Regions from separate parts of the Homo sapiens genome. Here all the other regions are linked to region 1. The links are contacts of gene promoters, found by promoter capture Hi-C in human tissues and cell types (Jung and others, 2019). All regions are on one chromosome and are shown on one strand. The core of a region is centred on a gene start or on the middle of the fragment in contact, and the rest is flanking DNA. Distances in the headings are between cores, read along the strand shown.

Region 1 (4,054 bases), core at 515-3,014:
ACATTTTTTGTCCAGACTTCTCCCTCTGCCTGGAATGTTCTCCCCTTCTTCCCTGGGCAAATTCCCCCCATCTTCCAAGACCCAATGCAGAAGACAGGTTCATTAGAAGCCCCTTCAGGGTACTTCCAGTGCCTAGAATCCAGCCTGACATTTTGGTTGAATAATTAATTAATCAGATCAAGGACCTCTTCCCTGAGTACCCAACATAGCCCCCCTCCCCAACGCCTGTGCTCCCTGCACACCTCCTCCATGCTATGTTGGAACTTCTTGAAGTCAGGCTTCATTTCTTTTGTTTCGTTTCTTTCTTTGTTTTCTCTTCTCTTTTTCTTTTTCTTTCTTTCTTTCTTTTTTTTTTTTTTTTTTCGAGACAAGAGTCTCACTGTCGCCCAGGCTGCAGTGCAGTGGTGCCGTCTCAGCTCACTGCAGCCTCCACCTCCCTGGTTCAAGTGATTCTCCTGCCTCAGCTGTCGGAGTAGCTGGGACTACAGGCACCCACCACCACACCCGGCTAATAGAGACAAGGTTTCACCATGTCAGCCAGGCTCATCTCGAATTCCTGACCTCAGGTGATCCGCCCGCCTCAGCCTCTCAAAGTGCTGGGATTAAAGGCGTAAGCCACTGTGCCCGGCTGCGTTTCTTTTTTCTTTTCTTTTCTTTCTTTCTTTCTTTCTTTCTTTTTTTTTTTTTTTTTTTTTTTGAGACAGAATCTTGCTCTGTCACCCAGGCTGGAGTGCAATGGCACCATCTCAGCTCACTGCAATCTCCGCCTCCCGGGTTCAAGAGATTCTCCTGCCTCAGCCTCCGGAGTCGCTGGGATTGCAGGCACCCGCCACCGTGCCCGGCTAATTTTTGTATTCTTAGTAGAGACGGGGTTTCACCACCTTGGCCAGGCTGGTCTCAAACTCCTGACCTCGTGATCCACCCGCCTCGGCCTTCCAAAGTGCTGGGATTACAGGCGTGAGCCACCGCGCCCGGCCTCCGGCCGCGTTTCTTTTCTTTTTTAGAGGAGTCAGGCTGGAGTGCCGTGGCACAATAGCTCACTGCAGCTTCGAACTCCTGGGCTCAAGTGCTCCTCCCGCCTCAGCCTCCTGAGTAGCTAGGACTGCAGGCGTGCACCACCACGCCCGGCTTTTTTTTTATTATTATTAATTTTTTTGTAGAGACGGGATCTTGTTGTATTGCCCAGGCTGGTCTCCAACTCGTAGCCTCAAGCGATCCTCCCACCTCGGCCTCCCAAAGTGCTGGGATTACAGCTGTGAGCCACCGCGCCTGGCACAGGCTTCATTTCTGATGGTCCTTCCTTTTTCCTTGATGCCTTTCTCTGTACCTGGCACATAGAGGTGCCTGGTACGTGTTTGTTGAATGAATGAATGAATGAGTGAATGAGCGAACATGCCATTTCACCTTATATATCTTGTGAACCTGCCAGGCCCGGGCCTGATGTCATAGCCTCTACCCCTGGCCCGAGTCTCCAGTCCCCTGCGTGTCTGCTGACCACAGCACGAACGCCAGCGCACTACCCTCCTCAACCCCAGCCCAGGCCCCTTCCCCGTCGGGGTCCCCCCAACCCTTTCCCCGCCCGCTTCCCCGCCCCGGGGCCGCTTAGCCTCCAGCTCAGCGGGAGGTATCCCCGCCCACGGCCAGGATTGGAGGATGGAGGCAACGCCCACCCCGCCGGGCGGCCTCCTATTGGCGCGGCCGTCGCCAGGGGTGGGGACAGGACCGGCGGCTGCTGACGCCATCCCGGCCAGAAAAGCCCTGGCCAGTGGCGGGCGCGACACTATCCGTGCGGCCAGGCGGAGGTGAGTGCGCGGCGGCCGGATGGGCGGGACGGGCGTGGAGGACGCCGAGCACCGTGGCGCGCGCTCACGTCCGCGTCCCCAAGGGCTGCGCTCCCTCAAGCGCAGTGCCCAGAACTCGGAGCCAGCCCGGCCCGGGGGACCCTGCTGGCCAAGGAGGTCGTCAGTCCGGTCTTGTCTTCCAGACCCGGAGGACCGAAGCTTCCGGACGACGAGGAACCGCCCAACATGGCCTCGGAGGTGAGTGGGACCTCGGGGACTCCGGTCCTCCTAGCCTCCAAAGGAGAGAGTGGGGGCGCCAGACCTGCCTCGGGCCACCCTGCTGGGAATCGCCCTCCAGGAAGCAATTTTGAAAATTACCTAGGAAGCCTGCACCCCCAGCCCTCCCGGGCGCATCATCTGGAGCCCAGCAGTCACCTTTACCAGGACTCACCAGTATCCGCAGGCAGCCCTTGTGGCAAACCCACCAACCCACACTACTAGGGGTAGAGTGGCTCTGCCCTCACCTCACAGTGATGCCTGCCTGGCCAGGAAAAGTGGCTCCCAAGCCTTCAGCCTTCCAACTCTTCCTTCCTTCTTACCACGTGTCCTCCTGTCAGGTCCCACCCCACACCACATCCCTTCTCCTGCTAGAGCAATTGTCCCTGTTTATAGAATAAAGCTCAGCCCCTAAGTGTTCTTGTCCTTGACTGTGGCATGTGGAAAGAGCCAGGAAAAAGGGGACGTCGCCTCGTGGCTCCAGCAACCCTGGTGCCTGGTCCCTTCCTGTCTCACTGGACCCTGCCTCTTAGGGTCAGTGGCTCCTGGCCTCTCCTCCTGACCACTGAGATGCTGGATTCCCAGGCAGAGGTTTTCCTTCCTTGGGCCATAGTTGATTTATCTGGCAATGGGGGTAATAATAGCTGTCGGCCTCACTCTGTAAGGCACTAGATTATGAGGCCATTGCTTTGGACCCTTCAGGTGAGAGGGGCTGTTCGCCTGATGCTTGATGAAGGGAACTCCGGGAAGCAGGAGGTCTGGGTTCCAGGCCCTTTTGGCCTTCATTAGCTAGCAATTCACTTCCTCTTTCTCAATGCCCTGCAAGCTCAGTGCCCTGCAAGCTTCTGGGTCATGGCAGGGGGGTAGGGCCTGGACTTTGGAGCCAAACAGACTTGGTTTCTGTACCAGTCACTTGAGCCCTTTAAACCTCTTTCCTCATTTGTGAAATAGGGGTAATATTGCCCACCTCATAAAAGGCCGTAATAACATATGTGAAATCCCTAGCACAGGGCTGAGCAACAGTAGGTGCTCAATAAATGGTGGCTAACCACAACAATACTGATATTTCTACTTTGGGAGGCCGAGGCGGGAGGACTGCTGAAGCCCAGGAATTCCAGACCAGCCAGGGCAATGTAATGAGACCCTGTCTCTACAAAAAGATTTTGAAAATTACCCAGGTGTGGTGGCGTACACCTGTAGTCTCACAGGAGGCGGAGGCATGAGGATTGCTTGAGCCCAGGAGTTTGAGACTGCAGTGAGCATGATCTCACCACTGCACTCCAGCCCAGGCAACAGAGTGAGATCCAGTTTCAAAAAAATAAAAATAAAAAAACCTGGCAGGCATGGTGGCTCACACCTGTAATCCCAGCACTTTGGGAGGTCGAGGTGGGCAGATCACCTGAGGTCAGGAGTTTGAGACCAGCCTGGCCAACATGGTGAAACCCCGTCTCTACTAAAAATGCAAAAATTAGCTGGGTGTAGTGGTGGGTGCCTGTAGTCCCAGCTATTCGGGAGGCTGAGGCAGGAGAATCGCTTGAACTCGGGAGGCGGAGGTTGCAGTGAGCTGAGATCGCACCACTGCACTCCAGCCTGGGCGACAAAGCAAGACTCCACCTCAAAAAAAGAAAAAAAACCCACAAGTCCCAAAACCAAAACTGGTATTTCCCATGTACATTCGACCTTAACTGTTGCTCATTCAACCCAGCCCAACTCAGTGCCCCATCCCCTGGCCCTGAAGAGACCATTCTGGCCCAGATGTGTCCTGGCTTGGAGTAGCACCTTCTGCTACCACACTAGGCCTCCACTCTCCTCAGTGCCCAAGGGGAGGCACCTCACTCTGATCTCCCTGTGGGGTCCTCTTATGCCTGCCAGTAAGGATAGGAGTTTGGTTCTAGAGCAGAGTGGTCTGGCTTCCAACAAGCCCAGTGTTCTAGGTGACCTCAGGTTGCCCCAGGCCTTCCTGTAGGTTGGCACTAATTGGTTTGGCTGCAGCTCCA
Region 2 (4,054 bases), core at 726-3,225, 500 kb after region 1:
TTACTAGTTCCTATGCTCACTAGCCATCCCATCATTTAATTTTGTTTTGTTTTTTGTTTTTTTTTTTGAGACCAGAGTCTCACCTTGTTGCCCAGGCTGGACCGCAGTGGCACGATCTCAGCTCACTGCAATCTCCGATACCTGCATTCAAGGAATTCTCCTACCTCAGCCGCCCAAGTAACTGGGATTACAAGCACGTACCACCACATCCGGCTAACTTTTTAAATATTTTTAGTAGAGATTGGGTTTCACCATGTTGGTCAGGCTGGTCTCGAACTCCTAACCTCAGGTAATCCAGCTGCCTCAGCCTCTCAAAGTGCTAGGATTACAGGCGTGAGCCACTGCGCCCGACCCATCATTTAATTTTTAACATCACTGTATATCCAGATAATACAAACTGCCTTTGAGTAACCTAATTTTTAAGGAATAAATTTCTATAATGCAAGGACTATGTATACGAGTCACCAGAGTTCTACTACTGTTTTATCACTGAGCTACATGCCATGCTGAATATAGTAAAAGAACGAGAGAAATAATGCTTGATGACTGCCATTTGCAAGCCCTGCGCTGGGTACATCATATTTATTAGCTCATTTAATCTTCACCAGGAAATATGCCTGTCTCCATTCTTCCACTCCAAGGAATTTGTCTAAATTTGAGAACTAAGACTAACACAATCCAAAGAAAATAACCAGAAGTTAAGACAAACACAAAATGAAGAAACTACTGAAAGCTGTTCATTAAAGGTTGACTGAGAAGAAGAGGGGAAAACATCCTTTTCCTTAATATTAAACTGACTTGCTGATAGCTGAATGCAGAAGAGAAAAAATGTATTTGCACGGTGACAGAGCTATGTATCCAGTCACATCACTGATCAACCGCCCCTAGTTAAGTCCTTTTACCGTTCCACCAGCTCCCAGTACTCCTGAATCTGCTTCTGCCTGGCTTTGTGCTACTCTTCCCTCCAGCACTTGGAGCAGAAACCCTGCCAGGTAGGGTTGCCACAGTAACCACATCCTTTCTTGCACAGGATCCACATGAATTCCTCGGCGTTCAGACCTAAGGCTCATCTTCTTCCTGCTAACCAATGAACAAACAAGAAAGTGCTGTTGAAAATGAATTATCATCCTACTAAACTAAAACCTTACCAGTTACGAACAAAACCTGAGTGATTCCATTATCTTCAAGCCGTAAGAGAGGGAAGGAGGGAATGAATGAGGAAGGGAAGGAGGGAGGGAAAGAGGGGAGGAAGGAAGAAGGAAAAAGTTAAATATAGTAAATTCCTGACAGTTACATTAAAGAAAGACTTATTCCCTGCCCAAAATACAAAGAACTCATTAAGAAAGGGCTAACATTGGATTAAAGACCTAAATGTATAGGCTTGAAACTAGAAAACTCCTAGAGGAAAACTTAGGGGAAAAGCTTCCCAACACTGGATTTTGCAATGACTTCTAGGATATGACACCAAAAGCACAGGCAACAAAGGCAAAATCAGACAAATACATTACATCAAATTTTAATATCTCTGCACAACATAGGAAGCAAATGACAGAGTAAGAAGGAACAATATACAGAATTGTAGAACATATCTGCAAACCACATATCTAATAAGGAGTTAATATCCAGAACATAAAGGAACTCTTACCACTCAGTAACAAAAAAAACAAGATAATCCGGTTTACAAATGGGAAAAGGACTGCAATAGACAATTCTCCAAAGACATACCAACAGCCAATAATCACGTGAAAAAGTGTTCAAGATCATTAAATCAGGGAAATGCAAATCAAAACCACAATGAGATATCTCTTTGTACCCATTAGGATGGCTACTACAAAAAAAACATTTGCAGTTTTTGACGTGGTGGCAAATAAGCACATGAATAGTTGATCAACATTGTTCAATCATTAGAGAAATGCAAATTAAAACCACCATGAGATATCACTCAAACCTATTAGAATGGCCAAAATAAAACATACTGACACAGCCTGGGCAACATGGCAAAACCCAGTCTCTACCAAAAAAATACAAAAAAAAAAATTAGGCAGCGATGGTGGTGCATGGCTGTGGTCCCACCTACACAGTAGGCTGAGGTGGGAGGATCACTTGAGCCTGGGAGGTGGAAGTTGAAGCAAGCCAATATTACACCACTGCACTCCAGCCTGGGTGACAGAGTGAGACCCCACCTCAGAAAAAAAATAAATACTGACAATACCAAGGGGTGGCAGGGATGCAGAGCAACTAAAACCCTCATACCTTCCTAGTGGAATGCAAAATAGTACAGACACTACTAGAGAAAACACTTCCATAGTTTCTTAAAAATGTGTAACATACAATGACCATCCAACCATGCAATCCCTCTCCTGGGTATTTCCTCTAGAGAAATAAAAACTGCTATTTACAAAATTCTATACACAGTTATAGTAGCATTATTTGTGATGACAAAAAATGACAACTAAAATATCCTTCAATGGGTGAATGAATAAACAAATTATGGTACATCCATACAACAGAATGCTACTCAGGAAAACAACAACAACAGGTATCAGAACACCCAACAACTTCGATGAATCTCAGAGGCTTTATGCTGATAGAAACCAGCATCTTAGTTCCTTCTGGCTGCAGTAACAAAATACCATAAACTGGGTAGGTTATAAAAAACAGAAATTTATTTCTCACAGTTCAGGAAGCTGGCAAGTTCAAGATCAGGAAGTCAACAGATGTTGGTGTCTGGTGGTTCACTGAAGGTACCTTCTCCCTGTGTCCTCACATGGCTAGGCTCTCTGCGGTCTCTTATAGGTGCACTAATCCCAATCATGAGGGCTCCACTTTCATGAACTAATCACCTCCCAAAGGCTCCACCTCCTAGTAGCATCACCTTGTGGATTAGAATTTCAACATATGAATTTGGAGGACACACAAAGATTCAGACCATAGCAGCCATCTTAAAAGTTTACATACTGTAAGATTCCATTTAAGAACTAGGGATAGGAAAGAATGTGACTTATAAAGGATTAGCACGAGAAAGTTTTTAGGGGTGATGAAACTGTTCTGTATTCTGATTGTGGAGGTGTTTACATAAATCTATTAAAATTTAGAAATTTGCAGAACATTATATTCCTCCCAAATCAATTTTACTCTATGATAAAAAAAACAAAACAAAACAAAAAAAAACCAACCTCAGCCGGGAACGGTGGCTCACACCTATAGTCACAACACTTTGGGAGGCCGAGGCAGATGGATCACCTGAGGTTAGGAGTTCGAGACCAGCCTGGCCAACATGGCAAACCCCGTTTCTATTAAACATACAAAAATTAGCCAGGCGTGGTGGCAGATGCCTGTAATCCCAGCTACTCAGGAGGCTGAGACACGAGAATCACTTGAACCAGGGAGATAAAGGTTGCAATGAGCCAAGATCACGCCACTGCATTCCAGCCTGGGCAACAGAGCGAGACACCATCTCAAAAAAACAAAAAACAAAACAAAACAAAACACTTGAGAGGCAATTTCTAGGTTGGATTAGAGAGAAGTACAGAACAGGAGACACGGATACTGACCAAGACACAACTACAGTCAAGGACTAGAGGTAACACAGTGGGTAGCTAGGTGTGGTGGCGCTTGCCTGTAATCCCAGCTACTCGGGAGGCTCAGGCATGAGAATCACTTGGACCCGCAAGGCAGAGACTGCAGTAAGCCAAGATCCCACACCAGGGCACTCCAGCCTGGGCAACAGAGTGAAACTCCGTCTCAAAAATAAATAAATAAATAAATAAATAATCTTGCCATTATCATCCCGTGTCCCTTTTCTTCCCTTTCAAGAGAAATGGGCAAAAGGAAATACTTATTTTTTCGCATAGATCAATTATGTTTTTTAAATTTTGTACTGTTAAGTATGATAGTACTACTCAATGTTACTAAAATGAACATAAGTTTGGGGAGTCTGCCTAGCACGTGCAAATACCTCCTGTGTATCAGGAAACTGTCCTCTCAATCCACAAATATAAGCTGGCAGCAGCTATATTTGTATGAGGTGAACAGTCCCCCAATTCAGGGTCAC
Region 3 (4,054 bases), core at 563-3,062, 470 kb after region 1:
ACCACCTGACATCCCTTTCCGGAACCCCAACACGTACGACATCCACTGGCTGGAGAAGATCCTGAAGGCCCGAAAGCATGTCCACATGGTCATCATTAGCCAGCTGCAGTGAGTGCCCAGCCTCTGGAACGGGGAACAGAGAGGGCAAGACCATGGGGAGGGTGAAAGTCAAGGTCATGGTGGGTCAGCTGGGATCCAGACCCAGGTGTACTACAATAGTTCCTGCCTCTTTCTCCTGAAACATACAACTTCAACACTTATGGACATTTACTTATTTTTAAAGATTTTTTTTTTTTTAGATATTATATTTGTTCTCTGGGGAAGAAACAAAAACATGTTTTAATTAAATTTGACTGTTTCTGACTATACAATTCTGATTTTTAACATTTAAATATAAATACGTTTGTATTTAAATATCAATGTTTAAATATAAATATGAATATTTATTATATTTTTTAAAATAATTATAATTCCATAGTCTCAGTGATTACCTTTTTTTCTTTTTTTTTGAGACAGGGTCTTGCTCTGTCACCGAGGCTGGAGTGCAGTGGCACGATCTCAGCTCACTGCAACCTTCACCTCCTGGCTTCAACCCATTCTCATGCCTCAGCCTCCCAAGTAGCTGGGATTACAGGTGTGCACCACCACCCTGGCTAATTTTTGTATTTTTTGGTAGAGATGGAGTTTCACCATGTTGGCCAGGCTGGTCTCGAGCTCCTGACCTGAAGTGATCTGCCTGCCTCAGCCTCCCAAAGTGCTGGGATTACAGGTGTGAGCCACTGCACCCAGCCTCCGTTATTACTACTATACCATATATCCTTACAGTCTTTTGGGTTTTGGTTTTTGTTTTGAGACAGGGTATCACTCTGTTGCCCAGGCAGGAGTACAGAGGTATGATCCTGACCCACTGCAGCCTCAACAGGGTCTCACTGTGTTGCCCAGGCTGGTCTTAAACTCTTAAGCTCAAGTGATCCTCCCACCTTGGCTTCCCAAAGTGCTGGGGTTACAGTCGTGAGCCACCACACCCAAACTGTGTGGCCCAGTCTTTTTTTTTTTTTTAATACAATAGATGATTCGCTTATTTTCAGAACAATACACAAAACAACCTGGAAAATATGAAAAGATAGAAGAAAAGAAGATAGCTGTAAGTCTCCTACTGAAAGTCAACACTTTGATGCATTTCTTTATATTTTTAAATTATTATTTTATTAATATATTATTACTTTATTTTTGAGATGGAGTCTCATTCTGTCGCACAGGCTGGAGTACAGTGGCGTGATCTCAGCTCACTGCAACCTCCACCTCCCAGGTTCAAGAATTCTCCTGTCTCAGCATCCTGAGTAGCTGGGACTACAGGTACATGCCACCACGCGTGGCCAATTTTTTTAAAATATTTTTAGTAGAGACGGGGTTTCACCATATTGGTCAGGCTGGTCTCGAACTCCTGACCTCAGGTGATCCACCCGCCTCGGCCTCCCAAAGTGCTGGGATTACAGGCATGAGTCACCACGCCCAGACGTTTGTTTTTTTTTTTTTTTTTATTGCACAGGTTAGTCTCAAACTCCTGGGCTCAAGCCATCCTCCCACATCGGCCTTTCTTTTTTTTTTTTTTAAGATGGAGTTTGCTTTAGTTGCCCAGGCTGGAGTGCAAAGGCACGATCTTGGCTCACTGCAACCTCTACCTCCCAGGTTCAAGCAATTCTCCTGCCTCAGCCTCCTGAGTAGCTGGGATTACAAGCATGCGCCACCACCCAAGCTAATTTTGTATTTTTAAGAGACGGGGTTTCTCCACGTTGGTCAGGCTGGTCTCGAACTCCCAACATCAGGTGATCTGTCTGCCTCAGCCTCCCAAAGTGCTGGGATTACAAGCTTGAGCCACTGCGCCCAGCCCGCCTTCAATGTTATATTACATGTATTGTTTCTTTGTTTTTTTGAGATGAGGTCTTGCTCTATCACCCAGACTGGAGTGCAGTGGCACCATCTTGGCTCACTGCAACCTCTTCCTCCGGCATTCAAGTGATTCTTGTGCCTCAGCCTCCCAAATAGCTGGGATCACATGTGCCTGCCCCCACACCCGGCTAATTTGTGTATTTTTGTAGAGACAGGGTTTCACCATGTTGGCCAGGCTGGTCTCGAACTCCTGACCTTAAGTGATCCGCCTGCCTTGGCCTCCCAAAGTGCTGGGATTACAAACATGAGCCACTGTGCTGACCTGCATGTTTTTTTAAATTAAGATAATATTTGCATGTGTCAAAAAAACCCAAATTGTTCAAAATCAAAAAGTGGAGGTTTCCCTTTCTCCCACAGATAGTTCACCCCCCCGAAGTAACAACTAGAAAATGCAGGAAAACGGCCAGGTGTGGTGGCTCACGCCTGTAATCCCAGCTACTCAGGAGGCTAAGGCAGGACAATCGCTTGAACCTGGGAGGTGGAGGTTGCAGTGAGCTGAGACCATGCCATAGCACAACAGCCTGGGCAACAGAGCAAGACTCCATCTCAAAAAAAAAAAAAATTAATTAATTAAAAAATAAATTAGACGGGCATGGTGGTGTGCACCTGCATTCCCAACTACTGGGAAGCTGAGGCAGAAGGACTGATTGAGCCCAGAACTTTGAGGCTGCCGTGAGCTAGGATGGCACCACTGAACTCCAGCCTGGGCAAAAGAGTAAGACTGTCTCAAAAATAGTAATTGATAATAATGCTGTGATGACTATCCACTTGCATAAATCTGGGCACACGTTTCTGATCCCTTGGTCAGACAATATCCTCGCTTTATAGATGAGGACAGCAGACCTGGAGGAATGATTTGCCAGCCCAGGTCCATCGTCCAGGGCCTATATGGGGAATGCTCTGTCGGGACGGTGTGTTCCCCATTTTTATTTCGGTGTTACCAGGCTCCTGCAGCAGCAGCAGCACCACATCTCAGAGGGCAGGTGAGAAGGAGGGGAAAACGGCCAAACGCAATGGCTCATGCCTGTAATCCCAGCACTTTGGGAGGCGGAGGCAGGCAGATCACCTGAGGTCAGGAGTTCAAGACCAGCCTGGCCAACACGGCGAAACCCCGTATCTACTAAAAATATAAAACTTAGCTGGGCGTGGTGGCGGGCACCTGTAGTCCCAGCTACTCAGGAGGCTGAGGCAGGAGAATGGTGTGAACCCAGGAGGTGGAGGCTGCCGTCAGCCAAAATTGTGCCACTGCACTTCGGCCTGGGTGACCAAGCGAGACTCCATCTCAAAAAAAAAAAAAAAAAAAAAAAAAAGGAGGGGAAAACCTCATTTTCTAACTGCCACCTCTTTTCTTTCTTTTTCAGACCCTTTGCAGAAATCTGCAATGATGCCAAGGTGCCAGGTGAGTCGGAGGCAAGGAAGCCACCCTTCTGCCCTGTGGGGACTAGACTGTTCCTTTTGAAAAAAAGGTAGAGCCGGGTGCAGTGGCTCACGCCTATAATCCCAGCACTTTGGGAGGCAAGCAGATCACTTAAGGTCAGGAGTTCAAGACCAGCCTGAGCAACATGGTGAAACCCTATCTCTACTAAAAATACAACAATTAGCTGGGCGTGGTTGTGGGCACCTGCAATCCCAGCTACTTGGGGGACTGAGGCAGGAGAATTGCTGAACCCGGAAGGCGGAGGTTGCAGTGAACTGAGATCACACCCCTGCACTCCAGCCTGGGAGACAGAGCAAGACTCCATCTCAAAAAAAAAATGAAAAAGACAGAGACACCAGGAGTTGGAGGCTGCAGTGAGCTATGATTGTACCACTGCACTCCAGCCTGAGCAACAGAGCAAGACCCTGTCTCTAAAAAAAAAATTTTAATAAATTTTTTAAAGGCAGAGATAGATGTGGTCCAGGTGGGCATGCAATAGATGGCTTACCACCTTGAAAAAAATATAGCCCCTCTCCACCCTGGTGCCTCCCCAGGGAGCCTGAGGTCTCCATGAACAAGGACAGGTATCCCCAAGAGGCCCCCCGAAACCTGCAGGTGCCCTACAGAGGGAAGGCCCTGCCATAGCACCAATGAGTGTATGAGGTCAGCTAGAAGGACAAGAGGCAG
Region 4 (4,054 bases), core at 490-2,989, 390 kb after region 1:
GCTTCCTGACGCCTCCCTAGAAGCAGAAGCTGCAATGCTTCCTGTACAGCCTGTAGAACTGTGAGCTAATTAAACCTCCTTTCTTTATAAATTACTCAGTCTCAGGTATTTCTTTATAGCTATGTGAGAATGAACAAACTAATACACTATGTGACCCATCTCCAATAAAAGCCCTGGATTCTGAGGCTCATGTGAGCTTTCACAATAGAAAACACTTCACATGTGTTGCTAGAGTTTATGGCTGGGGAAGTAAGCACAAACTGGGCAACTCTACGGAGAGAAGACTCCGAATCTTCACAATGCTCGTGTCCTATAGAATCTTCTCAATGCACAACTACCCTTTATTAATCCTGCTTTGTATCCCCTCACTGTAACAAACCATAGCAAAGAATGTCCTGTGAGAGCCTTGAGCGAATTACGAAACCTGGGGGCAGCCCTGGGGACTGCTGACATAGGATGTGACTAAAAGGGCATAAGGGAGGTCTTTCGGGTAATGGAATAGTTCTGTATCTTGACTATGGTGGTGGCTACAGGAATCTATGTATGAGATAAAATGTGCATGACACTATACACATACATTGCACAAATATCAAATTCCTAGTTTCGACATTATATTATAGTTATGTAAGATGTAACCATTAAGCAAACCAGAAGAGTACACAGGACCTGTCTGTATTATCCTTACAGCTTCCTATGGATTTGACGTTATTAATTATTCCAAATTCTAAAGTTTTGTTAAAAATCACACATGAATGTTTTTTAATAAAAATAAACACCTATCATGGGACTAATGTGTATCAGTTAAACACAACACTCAGATCATTCTGCTGCTTCTAAGTATAAAAAGAGAGCAAGGGTACCACCAAAAGAGAGTGCCATCATTTGAAAGGCTATGTGGTGGTGCCGACAGCTGTTATGGTAGAAGGCAGGAGAGTCGGCACACCCAGATTGGACATCAGAGCTACAGACAGCATATCCTGTAAACACAGGAAGAAACATGGGGGATCGACTGCATGAGACTCAACTCTTTCCTGGGCAGACAGACCTGTCCCTAGACAGGTAACCACCACCAGCACTGCTTCCAGGAGGGAGCTCCAAGGGGCCACATGCCACTCCTGTTTGAGCACTGCACTCCAATAAATAGGAGCTTGATTGAGCAACCTGGGCATAAAGAATGCACGATTCAATTGGTCCCACTTATGTCAGGGAAGACAGAGTAAAAATGATCTCTGCTGCTGGGACAGTTAGGATTCTATAAATTGTGCCCCAGGGCTAGGATTTATTCTAGGTCCAGGTACCTACAAAGACCAGAGAGGTACAAAGCTTACTTACAAAGCTCACAGAACTATTAGTGTTCTTTCTTAAGACTCTGGATGCAAACCAGTTTCATCTCAGAAAAGCAAAACCAAAACACTTTACAGATGTGAGTAGTTTCCCTCTATCCTTGAGCGGGCCCTGCTTCCTATTCTTGGGTTCAATGTCATGCCCTCAGAGGTCATTCCTATCTCCAGACAACTCATCTGGGACTTACAGGAAACATCCAATCAATTCCAGCAAAATGATAAGCTATCCATTGACCTCAATTAAGAAATAAAACTTACAGGTGATTTTTTTCCCTTAAATTTGTTTTTTTTTTCTAGTTGAAGCAAAGAATACTCATTATTTACAAAACCTGATATATATAGACAAGTAGAAAAAAAAGTTTTAGTCATAGAGTCACTGTATATGGTACATATTCTTATAGTGTTCCCTTGCACTCATTCAACAAATATTTATATACTGATTGATTACTGAATGACAGGCACTTAGGACACAAATATAAGTAAAAATAAATCATTTCAGTCCTTGTGGAGCTTACCGTGTAATATAAGAAATATGACTGTATATCTGGAAGGCCTAAAGAAAATAAAACACTGTTACTGCTGAGAAATTAACTTTAAAATGGCTAACTTTCATAAAAGAATTCATATTTATGTGAAATAAGCTAAATAGGTACACGAAATCTGTGGAACTCTTGTAACAGACAAACAATAACAAGTTAGAAAGTATAAAAAGAGATATCAGTCAAAATAGCATGAATATGTAAAGACTTATAGAAAATATTTTAATGAGAAAATTATAATCCACATGGAAACACTGAGATATACTTAACGCAATGTGCGAAAATAAAATCTTATAACCATGTCAAACATTCCAAAATGTGTAAGTTTACTACAAATGGCAATAAAAATCCCACAAGACTTTCTGGAACTCAACAAAATGATTCTGTCAGCAAAAATAAACACTAAATTATTTTTTGATTTTCTAAATTAATTTTCTGAATTTTTATTTGCAAACTAGTTAGAAGACTGTGAACTCAAGAACAGACCTGTCAAACCACTACAGGACAGACTGACTCAAAAATGAATCTAATCTAATCTAATCTAATATAAGGTAATTTAATGTTAGAAGAAGGAGGGGAAGGGGAAATTTTCAATAGTGTTGTAATAACTGGTCAGCAATCTGATACCCCCTACATTAATTACAGGTATCTTTAAAAAGTTAAAAGTTTGTAGAAACAAACAGAAAATAGAAAGAACTAAAATGAAGTATTCATGAAAGTTCTAAAGAGGTGAGGGTTATCTAAGTTTACAAACTGCAGGGAAAGTCAAAATGGAAACAAAACTTAAAATACATAAACTGAAACATCTAGCTGGTTCTTGATAGGCTATCTGTAGCCAAAACATAAAAGCAAATAAGGGACTAGAAAAAAAATCTGAAGTAAACAGGACAATGAAGTATTTTATTAAATTCAGAAATAGTACTAACAAAATTTATAAACCTTTGATAGCCAAGCAGGACAAGGTTATGAGCAGATCATGACCTTGAGCAGACCGCAAAATGTGAGCAGTTTGCTAGAAACAGAAACGGAATGCCAAAGGGTATGTGCATTTAAAATTCTGACATATACCAAACTGGTCTGACAAAAAGGCTATACCATTTACATTCCCACCTACAGTGTATGAGGGAATCTGGTCTCCCATAACCTCATAAGCATAGCATTATCGAACTTTAATTTTTGTCAGTCTGACAGGCAAACAAAAAAAATTCATTTAACGTGCTTTTCCCTAAGGTTAGCCACCTTTACAGATATTTATTGGCACTAGTATAATTTCTTTGAATAAATTAACTGTCTTTGCTCAGTTTTCTATGTCATTACTGTTTTCTTTCGATTTATAGGTACTCTTCTTAAATATTTTTCAGTCCTCAACTTGATGGTATGAAGACACCGTAATTCTAATAAAAGACTTATTAGCATTTGCAATCTGTAATCCAAGTTTCACCAACTTTCATATGATTAAATACAATGCTTCCAAAATGAATGTGAATGTCACACAGAATCAATGTCAGAGTTTTAATGTTAAATATAACAAAACAAAGTATCCAAACATTAGTCTAGACAAATAATTCCAAATGATAATCAACTCCCTGGAATAAAATGTAGAGTTGATTGCTGCTGGAATGAGCAGAGCAAGCAGGGGAGCATTCTTAAGGAATGAGTTCTAGACAATGGTCTTCTATTGTACTAGATCACGCCCTCCTTGATTAAGCAAAATTATAACTCTAATCTGAGCATGCCATTCTCCGGACTAATAGCTCAAAATTACATACAAGATTATCTGGCTACTGTAGCCTACTTTGTACCATTCTCTATGCCCTCGCCCAGGGAAGCAGCACAAATGGTCAATTTATTCAATAAGTCACTGACCAAAAATTATTTCTCTTAACTCCACTAAAGTAACAGCAACCTGCAATACATGAGGTGGTCTCTGTGTTAAAGGCATTTCTTTATTTTTTCTTTCCTTTTTTTTTTTGGCACAGGGTCTTGCTCTATTAACCCAGGCTAGAGTGCAGTGGCATGATCACAGCTCACTGTAGCCATGACTGCCCAGGCTCAAGTGATCCTCCCCACTTCAGCTTCCCAAGTAGCTGGGACTACAGGTGTGCACCAGAATCCCTGGCTAAATTTTTTGTTGTTGTTTTTTGTAGAGACAGGATCTCGCTATATTGCCCA
Region 5 (4,054 bases), core at 876-3,375, 370 kb after region 1:
CTAGCCCGGCTAATTATTATTATTTTTAAGAGATGGAATCTCACTATGTTACCCAGGCTGGTCTTGAACTCTTGGGATCAAGCGATCCTCCTGCCTCAGTCTCCAAAATGCTGGAATTACAAGCATGAGCCACTGGACCAAGCTGCACCTTATGTTTTTAATACAGAAACAAAGCTTGTATTTCAGGAATAGCAAGTAGACCATGATTATCAAGCCTTCCATTGCCCAATCTCTCTCTTTTTTTTTTTTTTTTTTGAGGAGTCTCACACTCTGCAGCCCAGGCGGGAGTACACCGGCGCATTCTCGGCTCACTGCAACCTCTGCCTTCCAGGTTCAAGTGATACTCCTGCCTCAGCCTCCTAAGTAGTAGGGATTACAGGCATGGGCCACCATGCCTGGCCAATTTTTGTATTTTCAATAGAGACAGGGTTTTGCCATGTTGGCCAGGCTGGTCTCCAACTCCTGGACTCAAGTGATCTGCCTGTCTCGGCCTCCCAAAGTGTTGGGATTACGGGCGTGAGCCTCTGAACCTGGCCTGTCTCCATGCTTCTTCCACAGCCTGCAGAACTGTGAGCCAAATGAACCTCTTTCCTTTATAAGTAACCCAGCCTCAGGTATTCTTCTATAGCAATGCAAAGGGATTAAGCCATTGTTTTATGTACCTTACAGGATAGCTACCAAATTCAGGAAAATTTACATTGATAAAATACTTTTACTCAATTGAAAATCCATATTCCAAGTTTCTCAATTGTTCACAATGAGCAGTTCACAATTTTCCCAACCTTTGTTTCTCTCAGCATGACACTTCTGAAGAACACAGGCCAGGTATCTTGTTGAATGCCATTTAGATTGGGTGTCCTCATGACTGGATTCAGGTTGTTAAAAATTTTCGGCTTAGATATTTCATAAATGATGTTGTGTTCTCAAAGTGTCATGTCTGGAAGCACACATGACATCTATCCTTGCCTCCTACATCCCCATTTTATAGTTACCATTTCTCTATTTATAATTAATAAATAATCTGGCTGGGCATGGTGGTTCACACCTGTAATCCCAGCACTTTGAGGCTACAGTGGTGGGATCACTTGAGGCCAGGAGTTCAAGACCAGCCTGGGCAACACAGCGAGACCCACCTCCCGTCTCCACAAAAAAAGGAAAAAAAGAAAAATAAACACATAAATAATTCATTGGCAGTGAATTTGAGATCATGTTCGTAACTTGTTTCCTGGGAAACTCCCTCCCCTCATCCAAGATTTAGCACCCAGATAAACTTTACCTGAATCAATTTTTGCTACTAACATGACTATAACCTCTCATTTGTGTATTTCTCTATTTTTTTTTATTTTTTTTTTATTTTTGAGATGGAGTCTTGCTCGTTGCCCCGGCTGGAGTGCAATGGCATGATCTCGGCTCAGCACAACCTCCGCCTCCCGGATTGAAACGAGTCTCCTGCCTCAGACTCCCAGTAGCTGGGATTGCAGGCATCTGCCACCACGCCTGGCTAATTTTGTATTTTTTTAGTAAAGACGGGTTTCTCCACGTTGGTCAGGCTGGTCTCGAACTCCCAAGCAAAGGTGATCCACCCACCTCGGCCTCCCAAAGTACTGGGATTACAGGCGTGAGCCCCCGTGCCAGCTGTATTTCTCTATTTTACTAGTTAAATTAACACACGGATTATTATTTTGTTCAGTTATACTTCATTTATTGTCCTTATTTATTGATTTCTTCACTTTATTTTTTTTTTAAGACGGAGTCTCGCTTGTTGCCCAGGCTGGAGTGCAGTGGCACGATCTCAGCTCACTGCAATCTCCACCTCCTGGGTTCAAGCCATTCTCCTGACTCTGCCTCCCAAGTAGCTGGGATTACAGGCACACACCTCCACACCTGACTAATTTGGTATTTTTAGTAGAGATGGGGTTGTGCCAAAAAAAAAAAAAAAAAGACAGAGATGCGGTTGCACCATGTTGGCCAGGCTGGTCTCGAACTCCCGACCTTAGGTGATCTGCCTAACTTGGCCTCCCAAAGTGCTGGGATGACAGGTGTGAGCCACCGTGCCCGGCCTTATTGTCCTTGTTTATTTTGACACTCAAATTATCCCAGACTTGGCCAGTGGAAACCCCTCCAAGCTGGCTTCTAGATCTTCTGAAATGTAACCAAAATATTGAAGGGGCCTTTTTTTCCCTGCCCCAGCCCCAGAATCAGTCATTTCTCTAAGAAGCCCTGGCTCACTTTAATGAATAATACTATTTAGAATCTAAGGTCTGGGTGGTATTGGTATTTTAACTCTAAAAAAGAAAAGATACGCTTTGGAGGATCACTGTCTTTAGATCTGTTTGTGAAAGAGGTACACAAGATTCTACTTGGGATGACAAGATTATAGGAGTTCTGAAAGAAAAGGGCACTTTGGAATGTATAAGCAAGTGATCTCAGCTTGGCCAACCACTATGACTTCCTCTATACAGCTCACTCACCATGACTGTGGAGACTAAAACACTTTAACTGAGTCTTTACAGTCAAGACATTCCATTTACTTTCTCTGAAAGTGAATCCAACTCTAAAAAAATGTGAAAATATTCTTCAAATTCCTTAGAAGGTTATTTGTATTTTGTCTGCTACCAAGCTGCTGTGTATGGCGAAAAGCTTTCCTTTATGTTACTAACAGAAACAAGCAAAATACCAAGAGCAAGGGCATCACGGACTAAAGAAGATCAAGAATACAAAATCCAAAAAGTCTGTTTCTAGTCTAGACCCAATACATTAAAACTGCACTTAGGCTAACCTTATCCAAACACGATGGCCAAACAAGTAATCAGTGTGAAATGCAAAATTTACCTGGCTAACTTATATTAAGTGATCTGTGAAACAAAGACATAATGGAATCTTCTCTTCTAACATAAATTTTCAAATACTTTAAGATCTTTATCCCCAAAGCTTTCTACTGACAAAAAGCAACTAAAGAACAAAAAATAGAAAGTACAAATCTACCATTCAAAAAGATGCGGGGTGGGGAGAAACAAGAACAAAGGTAAAAACCATTCTGCATACACATTTTTAAAATAAAAGTCACTTGGATTGTTTCTTTTTTTAACTAATTAATTTTTTCAAAGATGGTGTCTCACTCTGCTGCCTAGGCTGGAATACAGTGGCACAATCACAGCTCACTGCAGCCACTAACTCCTGGGCTCATGTAATCCTCCTACCTTAGTCTTCCAAGTAGCTGGGATTATAGGTAGGTACAAGCCACTGCACCCAACTCGAGAATGGTTTCTTTTTAAAGTACAGACTCTGCACTAAATTGTAAATCTTCTTTCCATAGTATCATGCACACTGTACAGAGGCTTTTGGGACACAGGTTTTTAAAACCACCAAGGAGAGTCAGCGAATATAAATGACAATTATGTACTTAAGTAACAGAAACTTGATTATATATATATATTTACTATTTATTATATACATTAAATAACCTGGGTTTCTGAAGTATACACATTGAATAAAGGAATATAATGGAAAAATATTGACCCAGGAGTTAGGAAACCTGAGTTCTCATGCACAAACTCATCGTTCAACCTTGGGTAAATTAGTTAACCTTTATGGACTTTCATATTGTCATCTGCAAAATGAGGCTATTAGAGCTGATAATTCGATGATTTTTTTTACTATTTCATCTGTTATCATACTTACCATTTCACTACATATCATCAAGAAACAGACTTTAAGCTAAATAGGAATGAAGGAACTTAATAATAAATGGCCTTGAGCTCCCTGCAAGATTATTCTATCAGAAGAATAACTTGCATTTTAAAAAAGCTAACACTTACTGGAGATCTACTGTGTGTGTCGGGCACTGTGCTAAGCTCTTTACATATGTCAACTAACTGAATCCTCATCAAATGTCTCTGATAGGTATTACTGTCCCTCAGTGTGGACAAGACTTGGTTAGTCCGCCCAGGGTCACAAAGCTGGTAAATGACAAAGCTAGGACTCAAATCAAGAGTGACTCCAAAGTCACCTTACTAACCACCTGAAAATTTCACCTCCTAATAAATAAATCATA
Region 6 (4,054 bases), core at 899-3,398, 330 kb after region 1:
GTCAAGGCTGCAGTGAACCATGATTTTGCCACTGCACTTCAGCTTGGGCAACAGAGGGAGACCCTGTCTCCAAAAAGAGTATAGGACCAGCTGATATAACAAGCAGTAACTGTCCCTACTGTCCCAATGCTGAGATACTGTGATCAAGGAAAAGACTCCCCCACTATGGCTGAGATCCAGCCCCCACTTGGAGAGAGCACAGTCATGGGTAATTCAATAGCAGAATTGCTGCATTACCACATGGTCGAACATGCTAGCAATCTGCCCTCTGGAATTTGCTGAAAATTCACCCTCTGGGGTGCTAGATTAAGCTATTAATGAACAGTTGTCTCACTACAAATCCACCCAGGCAGGTGCAGAGAAACTGCTGGTCACTGGGTGCTGCTGAGCACCGTGCAGGGCAAGAGCCCGGTACTGGAGAAGCTCAGTGCCTGTGGAGATTCGCACACCACAACCAGAAAGAAAAGCCTCTTACAAGGTCCCTCTAGTACTATGTACTGACAACATTTAATCATGTACCAGCTGACAGAAGAAGCATTTAAGGAACCCACCTCTATGTTTGCAGATCAGGCAGTGAAGGGTGAATATGGAACTGATGGGCAGTCATTGGATGGATAGCTGGTACATGACACGTTTCCTTCTACCAAGAAAGAAAGGGAAGAGAGAGAAGAGAGAGAGGACCAGGCATGGTGGTTCACACCTATAATCCCAGCAGTGTGGGAGGCCAAGGAAGGTGGATCACTTGGGTCCAGGAGTTAGAAACCAGCCTGGGCGACATAGTGAAATCCTGTCTCTACTAAAAATAAAAGAAATTAGCTGAGTGTGCTGGAGTTTGACTGTAGTCCCAACTTCTCAAGAGGCTGAAATAAAAGGATCACGAGTGTCTGGGGGTTCGAGACTGCAGTGAGCCGTGTTCACACCACTGCACTCCTGCCTAAGTGACACAGCGAGATCATGTCTCAAAAAAAGAAATGTTGGTGAAAATGTGGAGAAATTGGAACCCACATACATTACTGGTGGGAACACAAAATGGTTTAACTACTTTGGGTGTTTCTTTTCTTGTCATTTTATTTATTTATTTATATTTTTACTTTTTTTGTGTGACAGAGTCTCACTCTTTTGCCCTGGCTGGAATGCAGTGGTGTGATCCTGACTCACTGCAACCTCCACCTCCTGGGTTCAAAAAATTCTCCTTGCCTCAACCTCCCGAGTAGCTGGGATTACAGGCATCTGCCACCATACCCAGCCAGGCTGGTTTTGAACTCCTGACCTCAAGTTATCCACCCACCTCAGCCTTTCAAAGTGCTGGGATTACAGACATAAGCCACCGCACCTGTCTTCTTGTCATTTTAATTTGATTTTTCAAAAACCGAGACAGGGTCTTGCTATCTTGCCCAGGCTGGTCTCTCTTTACTCATAGGCTCAAGTGATCCTCCCACCTCAGCCTCTCATGTAGCTGGGATTACATCAGTCACTGCACCTGACTGGTGTAACCACTTTGGAAAACAGTTTCTCAAAAGGCTAAATGTACAACATCATAGAATGCAACAATTTCTCTCCTAGGTATATATCCCAGAAAAATAAAAATGTATGTCCACACAAAAACTTGTACATGAATCTTCATAGGAGCATTATTCATTAACAGCCAATACATGGAAACAACCCAAATGTTCATCAACTGAAGAATAAATAAAATGTGGTGTTTCTGTACCATGGAATATTATTCAGCCATAGAAGGAACGAAATACTGACACATGCTATGACAGGAAGGAACTCTGAAAACACTGTGCTAAGAGGGAAAAAAAAAAACAGCCACAAACAATCACATATTGCACAACCCTATTTATATAGAAGGTCCAGATTAGGCAAATCTATGGTGACAAAAAATAGATCAGTGGTTGCCTATGGGGAACACAGAAGCGTTGAGGGGAGTAAGCCACTAGCTTACTCCCCGCCATGTTCTTAGCTAGTGGCAAAGAACAGCGGATTTCTCTATAGGGTAATGAAAGCTTCTAAAATGGATAGTGGTGATAGATCACAGCTCCATGAATATTCTAAAAACCACTGAATTGCATACTTTGATAAACAAATTGCATGGTATGTGAACTACATTTCAATAAAGTTGTTATTTAAAAAAAGAAAATAGCAGACTGGACCCAGATGGCCCATGGCTGCCTATAATCCCAGCACTTTGGGAGGCTGAGACAGGAGGATCAATTGAGGACAGGAGTTTGAGATCATCCTGGGCAGCATAACACGATCCCATCTCTACAACAAAAAAATAAAAAATTTAGCTTTGCATGGTGGTGTACGTCTGTAGTCCAAGCTACTTGGGAGGCTGAGGCGGGAGTACTGCTTGAGCCCAGGAGTTTGAATCTACAGCGAGCCATGATCACACCACTGCATTGCAACCTGAGTGACAGAGCAAGATCCTGTCTCTAAAAAGGAAAGAAAAGAAATGCAAGTTTTTATCACTTTGTGAGAGTAACCAAGTTTGTAGAGAAACACATAAGAACAAGAGCACTGAATGGTGAGAGTGGGAGGCTGGTTAGGCTCATTGCTAGCTAAGGGACTTCTGAAAAATTCATTAGTAAAATCACAGCTCTGGGGGTCAGTCAGGCAGCCAAATGATGAATGTTAAATCCATTACAAATGCCCATCGTCTTTCTTTACATCCCTTCTAATGAAAAATTCCTAACTGCCTAAATAGCAAGTGTTCTCAAATGATAGCAGCTGTTTATTAAAGAAATAACACCTCAAATTTTAAAAACCATGAGTCAAATATTATTTTCTTCCTCCCATTTTATATGTGTGCAACCTAAAGAATAGAGAATTTAAGTAATTTTTCTAAGTGGCAGAGCACAGATTTAAATCCTATTACCTTGGCCTCAGAGTTTGTGCTTTATTTTATTTTATTATTTTAAAATTCACCTTTTTTAAAACCAAGAGGCTTATGCAAAATTCTGCTAGGATTCAAAAAAAGCCTCTTGCTTTTCCTGACTGTGGGTGCAGGCAGGGCTCATGCTGCATTTTCTTTACTTATAATTGGATGGAGACATGATGGATGGAGACATGACGACAGGAGCTCTCTTGGTCATTGTGCACCAGAAAGGAGAGTGAAGAGAGGCACAGGGAAGCCAGTCTTACCATGTTTGAGCAACTGAACCAATGTCAGCCTCAGCCTACCTGCACAATTACTTTTATGTGAGAAAAACAGGCATCTCCCTATTTTGATAATCACAGCTAGCTATAGTAGCAAACAATCCTCAAGTTATTCTTGGTAACATTATTCCTACAGCCTCAATCCTTTTAACTCATTATATTAGCTGTTCATTTCTCTGTTTTTCCTGACATCTAATTGACAACCAAAAGCTTATGTTATTAAATAAGCTTTGGATTAACGGGATCAATGAATGAAGAGTTTAAAGATAGCAAAAAAAAGTTCACAGAAGTACCTGCCAAATGTGCCAACTGACTACTATGAACTAATTTACTTTTGAGAAACATGCTATTTCTTATATGCTACTGACAGTGCCTATAAAAATGGTGCACATTAACTGGCTGTTTTATTTTCTCCCCAATCTTAATATCTAATATCCACAGACTGAGATTAGAGCACCAACGTATACAATGTAACTTCATACTAGAGTTAGAAGGGGATACAAAGTGTAGAAATCATAATCTTCTCCATAAAGTTCCTGTCACCTTGGAATTAACCTCCCCTTTACATAGTCTCATTGTTCACCTTGTTCACATCTTCATGGGTTCAGGCTCAGGTCTCTGTGGTCGCACAGTGTGTCTTTTTACCAAAAGGAACACCTCATGCACTTTTCCAAAAGGAGAAAAGTAAAGGTTTGAATGGATTTTTAGTTCTCGGCATTTTTGAACAGAAATAATCAGGTATTAAGTTGCTCAAAGATCCCCACAAGCTTTCATAGGAGAAACATCTAATTCATAACCAAGAGTTTATGTTATTAAGTAAGCTTTCCTTTAACAGGATCAATGAATGAAGAGTTTAAATACTCGCTCTAATCCCCATTCAGTCATCTGGTAT
Region 7 (4,054 bases), core at 1,158-3,657, 300 kb after region 1:
ACCATCTCCGGGGCAAAGACAAAGGGCCAAAAATTCATTCCCACCCTCACCCCCAGCAGACAAAAAAACACCATGGGACATTAAATAAAACAGAAATCACTGAAACCACAGAGAAAAAATTTATTATCAATTCGTCAGAAATCCACTCTCAAGGTTAAAAGAAGAGATGGGGTTTTCCCAAGGCACTCTGGTGTGAAGTGAAAAAAATGACAGACCAGGGAAGATTTAGTCTCCTTGATGAGGTTCACCATGGAAGACGTAAAAGCTGTATCCCGAAGAAGGGAATACAAGGCAAGAGCAAAACCAGAAAACGCAATCATCAGGCAAAAGCGAGGCCTTGAGTGACCACTATGAGGCAGAAGATGGGCGTGAAGAGACAATCCTGAGACAGGGGCTGGTGTAAGAGAGGGCCCAAAAGAGGCCAGTATGGGGCAGGGGCCGCGCCCCTCAGGGCCTACGCCGGGCAGGAGGTGGGCCTGGCGAGGCCTACTTTGGGACGCTTTGGGCCACTTTGGGCCACATCGAGGAAGGCAGCTTGGGGCCGGGAGGCGCCGTCAGGCTGGGTGGGAGCTGGGCCCGGAGAGGCCACCGCGAGGCATGAGCTGGGCCCAGAGGGGCCAGCGTGAGGCAGGAGCCGGGCTGGTGGAGGCTGCCGGGAGGCCGGCACGAGCGTGGCAGGGGAAGGCCGCCGGGAGGCGGGAGCTGGGCCTGGAAAGGCTGCTGCGAGGTGAGGCAAGGTGAGGGGAGGCGAGGCGAGGCAAGACGCGGCCCTGGAGAGCTGGACTGGAGGAGGCTTCGGGCCTACGAAGGCCGCCGGGAGCTGGGCAGGAGCCGAGTCGAAGGAGGCTGTTTGGAGACGGGAGCTGGGCCCACGGGCGCAGACGCGAGCAAAGAGCTGGGCCCGGAGAGGAGGCCGGGAGGCAGCCACTGGACCGGGGGAGGCCGACTTGAGGAAGTTCTGGGCCTGGAGAGGCCACCACAAGGGAAAAGCTGGGCCTCAAGAGGCCGCAGCGAGGCACGAGCCGGGCCTAGAGAAGCCTTCGGGACGCAGGAGCTGGGCTTGTGGCGCCTGCCGGCAGGCAGGAGCCTGGCCTGGGGAGGCCGCGGCCGGGCACGAGATGAGCCTCCTCAAGAGGCCCCCGGCAGGCGGGAGCCGGGCCTGCCGGGGCTGCCGTGAGGCAGGCGGAAACGTGGCCTGGGGAGGCCGACGTGAGGCCGCAGCTGGGCCGGGAGAGGCCGCTGGCAGGCAGGAGCCGGGTCTCTCAGGGCCGCCGGAAAGCCGAAGGTGGGTCCGGGAGGCCTGAACGCAGGGAAGCCTGGGGCCTACAACGGCTGCCAGGAGCTGGGCAGGAGCTGGGCCGAACGTGGTTGTCGTGAGGCAGGAGCTGGGCCCGTGGAGGTGGCCGGGAGAGCTGGGCCTGGAGAGGCCGACGGGAACCAGTTCTGGGCCTGGAGAGGAGGCCGAGGGGCAGGAGCCGGGCCTGGAGCGGCCGCCAACAGGCAAGAACTGGGCCTGAGGTGGCCAGGCTGAGGCAAGAGCCCGGCCCCCATGGGCCACTGTGCGGGAGAAGCTATGGTTGTTCGGGCATCCAACACACGTGCTGTTCCTGGCGAGGCTTATTTCAGGACGATTTGGGCCTGCAGAAGCCATTATCAGGAGGCAGTAGCCTGGCCTATAGAGGCTGCGAAAATTTAAATTCTTGACCTGCAGAGGCCATGATCACGTAACATCTAGGCCTGGAGGGTCCACTGTCAGGCAGCGGCGCATCCTGAAGGGGCCTACAACAGGCAGGATCTCGGCCTGTGGAGAGGCATCCCCTGATCCTAAAGAGGCCAGTGTGAGTGATCACATGGCCCACAGAAGCAAGTGTCAGGCCAGATCGTCGCTTGGAGAGTCTGAGAAAGGCATGAGATGGACCTAAACAGACCATTGCGATTCAGCACCTGGGCCTATAGAGGCCAGTGTGAGGCAGGAGCTTGACCTGGAGAGGCTGGAAGACGTATGAGCTTGTCCTAAACTGTCCAGTGTGAAGGAAGAGTTTGGTCTGTCAAGGCCGTCGGGTAACAGGCTGTAACGTGGACTGGGAAAGCAACTGTGAGGCAAGGGCTGGGCCTCGGGAGGCTGGGGGAAGGCAAGACCTGGGCCTGGGGAAGCCATCGTCAGGCAGTAGCTGGGCCTGTGAAGGCCCCTGGGCAGCATGATCTGGGCCTGGAACGCTTGACTTGAGGAAGCTTTAGGCCTACAAAGGCCGCCAGGTGCTGGGCAGGAGCCGAGCCAAAATAGGTTGTTTTGAGTCAGGAGATGGGACTGTAGACCCAGCTGGGAGGAAGAACTGGGCCTGGAGAAGGCACAGGGAGGCAGCAACTTCACCTTGCGAAGCCGAACTGAGGAATTTCTGGGCCTGGAGAAGCCACCAAAGGGAAAAGCTGGGCGTGGATAGGCCGTTTTGAGGAATGAGCTGGGCTTCAAGAGGCAATGAGATGCATGAGCTGGGCCTCTAAAGGCTGCCAAAAGGCAGGAGCTTCATCTGGGGTGGCCACCTTGAGGGATGAGATGAGCCTAACCAGGCCATTAGAGGCAGGAGCTGGGCCTATCGGATCCTGCCATGAGGCAGGCAGAAACTTGGTGTGGGAAGGCCGGCATAAAGCAAGAGTTGGGTCCATCAAGGATGCCACAATGCAGGCAGAAACCTGGCGTTGGGAAGCTGCCATGAGGCAAGAGCTGGTCCTGTCAAAGCCGCTGGGAGGCCAAAGGTGGGCCTAGCAAAGTTGACTTTAAGAAGTCTGGGGCATATAGAGGCCACCAGGTGCTGGGCAGGAGCTGGGCCAAAAGAGGGTGTTGTGAGGCAGCAGTTGGGCCTGTAGACACAGCCAGGAAGAAGAGCTGGGAATGGAGTGGCTGATCTGAGTACATTGTGGGCCTGGAGGGTATGCCAACAGGCAAAAGCTGGGCCAGGAAAGGCTGCCGTAAGGCATGAGCCTGGCCTAAAGAGTCCATTGGGAAGCAGGAGTTGGACCTGTATACACCGCCAGGAGGAAGAGCTGGGCCTGAAGAAGCCACCATACAGCAGAGGCTGGGTTTATAGAGGCCGACAGGAGGCAGGAGCTCAGCCAGGTCGCAGGAGCTCAGCCAGGACAGGCTGACTGGAGGACATTTGGGTGCGCAGAAGCCACTCAGAGGCAGGAGCTGGGCTTTGAGAGGCTGCAAGAGGCAGGACCTGCCCAAACGAGGCCACTGTGGAGGAGGAGCTGACCTGTCACCACTGCCTGAAGACAGGGAGAAACGACCTGGAGAAGCCTCCGTGAGGTAAGAGCTTGGCCTGGAGAGGTCCCTCAGAGCCCGATGAGCTGGGCCTGTAGAGACCATTGTCAGGTTGGAGCTGGGCGTGTCCAGGCCAGTGGGAGGCAGAAGGTGGGCCTAGAGAGCTTGAATTGAGGAATTTTCATGCCGACAGTGGCTGCCGTGAGCTGGACAGGAGCTGGGCAGAAGAGTTTATTTGAGGGAAGTGTTGGGCCTGTAGACGGAACCAGGAGGAGGAGCTTGACCTGCAGAGGCCATCATGAGGCAGAGGCTTGGCCTCTATAGGCCAACGGGAGACAGGAATTGGGCCAGGAGTGGCTCACTTGAAGATAATATTGGAGAAAGTGACAGAGCATCAGGCATTAGATTCTCATAGGGACAGCGCAACGTAGATCCCTCACATGCATGGTTCACAATGGGGTGCATGCTCCTATGAGAATCTAATGCTGCTGCTGATCTGAGAGAAGGCAGAGCTCAGGCAGGAATGTGAGCAATGGGGAGTGGCTGTAAACACAGATGAAGCTTCCCTCATTCAACACCATTCACCTCCGGCTGTGTGGCTCCTTACAGTTCCATGGCTCTGGCGTTGGGGACCCTGCCCAAGTACATCCAGAAGGACCCTTCCACACCAGTCTTCATAGTGGTCAAGTGCAGCAGCCACTTAGCTCCCAAGGCATATGCCACAGCTGGCATTTCATCACAATCAACACTAAGTGGTAGCTTGAGTCATTGTGAGGTCACTTCCTGGAAATC

What was found. Contacts are between HindIII fragments. The study calls those that stand out against the background at their distance.
Region 2: a contact is called between a fragment that was not itself captured here and the fragment with the promoter of ASL in region 1, in 1 of the 25 tissues and cell types used here (mesenchymal stem cells).
Region 3: a fragment that was not itself captured here is called in contact with the fragment with the promoter of ASL in region 1 in 1 of the 25 tissues and cell types used here (lymphoblastoid cells).
Region 4: a fragment that was not itself captured here is called in contact with the fragment with the promoter of ASL in region 1 in 4 of the 25 tissues and cell types used here (heart right ventricle, mesenchymal stem cells, spleen and 1 more).
Region 5: a contact is called between a fragment that was not itself captured here and the fragment with the promoter of ASL in region 1, in 3 of the 25 tissues and cell types used here (IMR-90 fibroblasts, mesenchymal stem cells and thymus).
Region 6: a contact is called between a fragment that was not itself captured here and the fragment with the promoter of ASL in region 1, in 1 of the 25 tissues and cell types used here (mesenchymal stem cells).
Region 7: a contact is called between a fragment that was not itself captured here and the fragment with the promoter of ASL in region 1, in 3 of the 25 tissues and cell types used here (lymphoblastoid cells, mesenchymal stem cells and thymus).

What each region holds. Positions count from the first base shown.
Region 1 is chr7:66,074,055-66,078,108 of GRCh38, forward strand. It overlaps ASL (argininosuccinate lyase), which reads left to right and starts at 1,765. Exons shown (of 17, transcript NM_000048.4): 1 at 1,765-1,802; 2 at 1,985-2,039. The coding sequence starts at 2,028. RefSeq lists a silencer at 1,406-1,935 and an enhancer at 2,036-2,315. The HindIII fragment of the contact is 4,995 bases long and covers 1-2,449 here.
Region 2 is chr7:66,575,853-66,579,906 of GRCh38, forward strand. It overlaps the pseudogene RABGEF1P1. Among named protein-coding and RNA genes, the nearest start is that of KCTD7, 51 kb to the right of the region's middle. The HindIII fragment of the contact is 3,042 bases long and covers 455-3,496 here.
Region 3 is chr7:66,545,564-66,549,617 of GRCh38, forward strand. It overlaps the pseudogene LOC100420547 and the pseudogene RABGEF1P1. Among named protein-coding and RNA genes, the nearest start is that of LINC03011, 54 kb to the left of the region's middle. The HindIII fragment of the contact is 6,781 bases long and covers 1-4,054 here.
Region 4 is chr7:66,465,824-66,469,877 of GRCh38, forward strand. No RefSeq gene overlaps it. Among named protein-coding and RNA genes, the nearest start is that of LINC03011, 26 kb to the right of the region's middle. The HindIII fragment of the contact is 5,421 bases long and covers 1-4,054 here.
Region 5 is chr7:66,444,742-66,448,795 of GRCh38, forward strand. It overlaps the pseudogene RABGEF1P2. Among named protein-coding and RNA genes, the nearest start is that of LINC00174, 46 kb to the left of the region's middle. The HindIII fragment of the contact is 4,488 bases long and covers 1-4,054 here.
Region 6 is chr7:66,401,906-66,405,959 of GRCh38, forward strand. No RefSeq gene overlaps it. Among named protein-coding and RNA genes, the nearest start is that of LINC00174, 3.5 kb to the left of the region's middle. The HindIII fragment of the contact is 3,022 bases long and covers 638-3,659 here.
Region 7 is chr7:66,375,959-66,380,012 of GRCh38, forward strand. It overlaps LINC00174 (long intergenic non-protein coding RNA 174), which reads right to left. Exons shown (of 5, transcript NR_026873.1): 5 at 86-4,045. Among named protein-coding and RNA genes, the nearest start is that of LINC00174, 22 kb to the right of the region's middle. The HindIII fragment of the contact is 3,814 bases long and covers 501-4,054 here.